Regions from separate parts of the Homo sapiens genome. Here region 1 is linked to region 2. Evidence: promoter capture Hi-C in human tissues and cell types (Jung and others, 2019). All regions are on one chromosome and are shown on one strand. Each heading gives the region's core, a stretch centred on a gene start or on the middle of the fragment in contact. The rest is flanking DNA. Distances are from core to core; before and after follow the strand shown.

Region 1 (2,798 bases), core at 279-2,778, 240 kb before region 2:
ATGGAGCTGGCAGGAGCCCTGCCCCTTCTGAGTTGCAAGTCTGTAACTTCTGCAGCCACCCAAGTTGTGGCTGCAGATCTGAGCCTTCCTGTGCTCTTGCGGGGCAAGCAGGTAGGAGCCCTGTTCTCCTGGGTGCCACTGCAGCCACCCAAACTGTGGCTGCAGACCCGGGCCTCCTGCTCCACAGAATAGCCAGGAGCCCTGCCTCCTCTGGACGCACCTGCAGCCACCCAAACTGGTGGCTGCAGCTTCAGGCATCCCTCCACTCTTGGGGGCCTGGGAAGGCCCCCCCTCCCCGCCCTCACAGGCTCAAAAGTACCTGCCCCCACTGCCTGGCTTCTCCCTACTGTTGGCTGTCAACACCCACTCTGATCTCAGAGTAAAGCTGGGCTGAGCAGGGGCCATGAATGGCAGTGGGAGGCGGATTCCTGGGCAGAAGCCGGGGATACCCGATAAGACCCCACTTTCAGACCAGGGAGGGCCTGAAGGCTGAAGGCTGGGCTGCCAGATCCACAGACCAGAGTGGGGACCTGTGGTACCTCTTCTGGGTGCCCATGCACCAACTGGCATGCATTTCCTCCTCTCTGAGGTCCGTAAACACCCCAGTCTCAGCCAGAGCAAGGCAGAGGATGGAGAAACAACTGGAGACTGGATGACCAGCTGCAGAGAGGAGCTACCTTCTCTACTGAGAGCTGGGAAGTCAACAGGGACCTGCCTGCAGAGTGGAGCCACCCACTCCAGGGCCTCCAGGGCCTCCTCCCTATGGAGAGCTGAACACTGGAGGAGATGACCTGCTTACAGAGAGGAGCTGCCCACTGCGGGTCTCCTCTGAGCTGTCCTAAGATTCAGTAGAGCTTTTCTTTGTCTTGCTCACCCTCCACTTGTCTGTGTACCTCATTCTTCCTGGACACAGGACAAGAACTCAGGCAAAGGCTGGGATTACAGGCGTGAGCCCCTGTGCCCGGCCCAGTACCTTGACTTTGCTGCAATGCATTCCACTTCCTGTACCATTTGTTTATTTTTATTTTTATTTTATCATTATTTTTTGAGACAGAGTCTACTCTGTCCCCCAGGCTGGAGTGCAGTGGTGCGATATTGGCTCACTGCAACCTCCGCCTCCTGAGTTCAAGCAATTCTCCTGCCTCAGCCTCCCAAGTAGCTGGGACTACAGGCACATGCCACCATGCCCGGCTAATTTTTGTGTTTTTAGTAGAGACTGGGTTTTGCCATGTTGGCCAGGATGGTCTCGAACTCCTGACCTCAAGTGATCCACCTGCCTTGGCCTCCCAAAGTATTGAGATTACTGGCGTGAGCCACCACACCTGGCCCAGTACCTTGATTTTGATGCAATGCATTCAACTTCCTGTATCATTTAAATGTAGTGGAATTGTTATAAAGACTAATGTTATAGGCCAGGCGCGGTGGCTCACACCTGTAATCCCAGCACTTTGGGAGGCCGAGGCAGGCGAATCACAAGGTCAGGAGTTCGAGCTCAGCCTGGCCAACATGGTGAAACCCTGTCTCTACTAAAAATACAAAAAATTAGCTGGGTGTGGTGGTGGGTGCCTGTAATCCCAGCTACTTGGGAGGTTGAGGCAGGAGAATCGCTTGAACCCAGGAGACGGAGGTTGCAGTGAGCCAAGATTGAGCCACTGCACTCCAGCCCAGGCGACAGTGCGAGACTCTATCTCAAAAAAAAAAAAAAAAAGATGAATGTTATACCTCCCAGTTTTCTGGATAATGTTCTCCGTAAGGTTTATACATTGACTACGATGCCAATTATAGTTAAGGGCAAGCTTGTTTCTCATAAATGATGTGACTTCAAGTTAATTACTTGGCTTTTTTTTTTTTTTTTTGCTGGCCCTAAGTTTATTGTCTGTATCTGAAAAATCATCATAGAAAATTGTTTGGTTTAGCTCTCAGCAGCCCGCTCCTGAGCTCTGAGGAAGCTTGCCTTCTTTTGAGCTACCTGATCCTTCTTCTGAGCAAGGGGCATTTTGGGAAGGTTCCACCTCTCCTTTTTAACTTCTTTCTTGGGCTTCTTTTCATAGACTGGATTCTCTCGTATAGCAGCATGAGCTTTCTTATACATCTCCTCCATCATGTCTGGAGTTACGCTGTTCTTTATGTATTGAGAGAACTGTTTCTTGTAAGCATCGTCATCTTCTTCCATTAAGTAGCGCATGTAATCTGCAACATTCTGGCCCATGAAGTGCTTCTGGTGTACTCCTGCATTAAATTCCTTGCTTTCAGAATCATAACCAGGGAATCATTTGGTGCTGTGAGGGACAGACAAGCCTCCATCCACAACTCCCTTCAGGGCGCCAAAAACTTTATTGCCAGTGGTAGTTCTGGCAAGACCTGCATCCATACAGCAGGTGAAGGCACCTGGCTGACCATCAGTACTTTCCACATTGTATTTATCGCCAGTCACCTCCACTTGGCCGTCATAGATCTTGTCCATGCCAAACCTATCAAGAAGCCTGCGGGCCAGCAGCAGGCCAGTACAATATGCAGCAGCATAATTTGTCGGGCCAACCTTCACACCGTATTTTGGCAGTTCGTGTGCATATGCCGCGCAGACTATCATATCCCCCTCTATACGGGCATAAGCAATCTGACAAATGATATCTCTGTCAGTTACACGAACAATCATCCTATACTTGGGTGTGTTGTATTTATTTTTATCCTGTATCACCAAGCGTTTCCGAGCATAGTAATCAGTTTTACCCTCTCGTCGTCTTCTAAATTTCACTTGGTATCTGTTAAAGTAGGCCTTATTCTTAACAACTTTAACA
Region 2 (2,893 bases), core at 197-2,696:
GGAGGGAAGGAAGAAGGTGTGAGCTCACCATCTGCAGCTGAGGTTCAAACTCTTTGAGCTGGTTTCCTGATTTTCATCAAGACAGCCAGGCAGTATTTGGTAAACAGTGTACCAAGTAGCCCTGGAGACTCTGAGCAGCCTACCCCCTTAACCACAAAAACACCGGACAGGCGGAGGGAAAAAGAGAAGACAGGATCCAGGAATGGTGCACACACCCAGCCAAAGGCCACCTTCCCTCAGGCACCCAAGCCAAGAGTGGCATCCCCAGGTCCTGTTATACGTCAAAGGCTGCAGCCGTGTGGGCCCCAAAGCAATAGCACAGCTTGCTCCCCTGACCAACCAACTCCTTCTGAAAAGAAAATCGACCTTCTCTGATGGAGCCGAAACCCAATGAATCAATGAAATTCAACAGCAGCAGCAATCACTACCTCTCCAATTGCGGACCTCTCAGGATGCCTGGCCAGGCTTGAAAGCCCTAGAGGAGTAAGGAGTTCGGATTTCTGATTCAGTGAGTCTGGGGAAACTCTGAGGAGGGTCACAAGGGCAAACCTCCCCGGCCTCTCCTGCTTGGCCCCAGCCCTAGGACGTGCTGCGGTAAGGGCTTTGCTCCCCCCGCCCTACACACACACACACACACACACACACACACAGACACACACACACCACCCCCCCCCCCCCGGGACACGGAGGGTGGGAAGGAAGGAAATGGAGGCCGCTCATCAAAGCGCCCGAAATCAGCGCACCCGCGTGTGTCCTGCGTCGCCCCCCAGGCCACCCCAGGACTAAGCCCTGCCCTCTCACCGGCGCGTCCCAGCCACGCCTTCCCTCCAGCGTTGCTCCGGCACCCTCGCCTAACCTCTGCACGTCTCGGATTCCCAGCTTTCTCCTAAATCGCGTCCCTCCAAAAGTCGCCCCAGCTCCCCCTTCTGCAGCTGTCTACACCTCCCCCACTCATTAGCAGCTCTTAACCCCCGACGGCCCTGCTCCTGCACTTCCCTCTCCAGCAGGCCCCGGACCCCGGAAAACTGCCCCGCTCCCACAGCGCCGCCCCCATGGGCCCCCGCCCCTTCCCCGAGCCGACCCCACTCGCCCTCGTCCTCCCCAAGATGTCTTCTCCAGGCGCCCCCCGGGGCCCCGAGCACTCGCCCCCTCCCACAGAGACAGGAAGTTCCGCGCGGCCCGACCCGCTTCCCTCAGGGCGCGGAGCTCGGCGCGGCGGCCCTGACGGGGCGCGGGCCCGGCCGCGGACCAGCGCCCCCGCGTCCCGCCCGCGGCGCCCCAACCGTCGCGGCGACCCCTGACCTCGGCGGCCACTCACCTCCCAATCCGTCGCACACTCCGTTCAGGCTGCCACGGCGTCTCCAGACCCAGCTCCGGCCGGGCTCCCGCTACCGCTTTTGCTCCGGCAGCACTGCCCAGCCCTGCCCAGACCCCTGCGGCCGCTTCTGCCGCCAGCCGCGACCGCACCGCCCCCGCCGCTCCCGCTGGGCTCTGTCCATTGGCTACCGGACACCGAGCCCCGCCCCACAGCCTCCCCGGCGCCCCCGATTGGGCCAGATGAGTAGAGAGGCGGCTCACCCCGCGTGAGGACGAGGGAAAGCCCCAGGACGCGCATTGGTGACTTCTCCTGTCAATCAAACGGGGAGTGCCTATTTAATGGGCTGCGAGGGTGGCGCAGATTACTCTCCCAAAGCCGCTCGCTGGTGGTGGTCCTTGAGACGCGCTTCCCGGGGCTGGAGTTTTGCGGTTTCGTCGGCATCCAGGGGTAAGAGGGCGCGGCAGGGCAGCACCGCACCTGACCGGAAGTTCAGGGAAGGTAATCCTACAGTCTTTCAGAAAGTTTCCTCTCCCAAGGGACTCAAAGAAGCTAATGTCGTTAGGAGCTCCTCCGACTTGCGCCAAAAGCGTCATTCCACGTGGACCCGCTTAGTTTAAACGGGGGGTTGGGGGGGCGTATGTTGCTGCTCTCTCTAATAAAATATATTTGGATGGCAAGGCACCAGGCAATGCACACGCATTCTTTCCAATTCTCACAATCACCTTGCATGATAGGGTATTAGCCCCGTTCTGCAGAGGGAAATACTCTTGAAGGAAAATGGAGAGCACTTCCTGAGCACTGTCCTACGCGCTGTCCAAGCACTGCTTCATGTCATCCAGGTGGAGAGGATGGTGAGAGGAACCCCAGGTGAGGGGTGAGCCAGGTAACTTGCTGGGGGTGATGTGGAGTAAAGAGAGTAAATGGCAGAGCCAGGATTAGAAACCCAGGTCAGCCCAACCCTTGAGAATAATAATGATGACTGTGTAGCACTATGGGAAAATGCTTAAACTAAAACGTTAAAAGAAAAAGCCAGATAGAGCCAGGCATGGTGACATGCACCTGGAATCCCAGCTTCTTGGGACGCCGAGGCAGGAGAATCGCTTCAGCCCAGGAGTTTGAGGCCAACCTGGGCCACATAGCAAGACCCAGTTCTCTAAAAAGTAAAATAAAAGAAAATAATAATAAAAGAAAAAGCTAGATACAAAATGGTAGAAACTGTAGAATTGCTGCTACATATAGATAGGTATGAGAAAAGAGTCCACAAAGAAATCTAGTGGTTGTTTACTTTCTAGACTGCTCTGTGGCATTGTCCTTATGACAATAATTGAGAAAGAAACAAAAGAACCGGCTAGGCACGGTGGCTCACGCCTGGAATCCCAGTACTCTGGGAGGCCGAGGCGGGCAGATCACAAGGTCAGGAGTTTGAGACCAGCCTGGCCAACACAGTGAAAGCCTGTCTCTGCTAAAAATACAAAAAATTAGCTGGGTGTGGTGGCATGCACCTGTAATCCCAGCTACTTGGGAGTCTGAGGCAGGAGAATCACTTGAACCTGGGAGGCGGAGGTTGCAGTGAGC

The links. The method cuts DNA at HindIII sites, captures the fragments that hold promoters and counts their contacts. A contact is called where the count stands out against the background at its distance.
Region 1: a fragment that was not itself captured here is called in contact with the fragment with the promoter of PACSIN2 in region 2 in 2 of the 25 tissues and cell types used here (IMR-90 fibroblasts and aorta).

What each region holds. Positions count from the first base shown.
Region 1 is chr22:42,774,491-42,777,288 of GRCh38, forward strand. It overlaps the pseudogene RPL5P34. Among named protein-coding and RNA genes, the nearest start is that of A4GALT, 55 kb to the left of the region's middle. The HindIII fragment of the contact is 4,216 bases long and covers 1-2,798 here.
Region 2 is chr22:43,013,703-43,016,595 of GRCh38, forward strand. PACSIN2 (protein kinase C and casein kinase substrate in neurons 2) reads right to left here and starts at 1,447. Exons shown (of 11, transcript NM_001184970.3): 1 at 1,319-1,447. RefSeq lists enhancers at 1,049-1,752, 1,735-1,934 and silencers at 1,175-1,244, 1,365-1,414, 1,425-1,614. The HindIII fragment of the contact is 29,159 bases long and covers 1-2,893 here.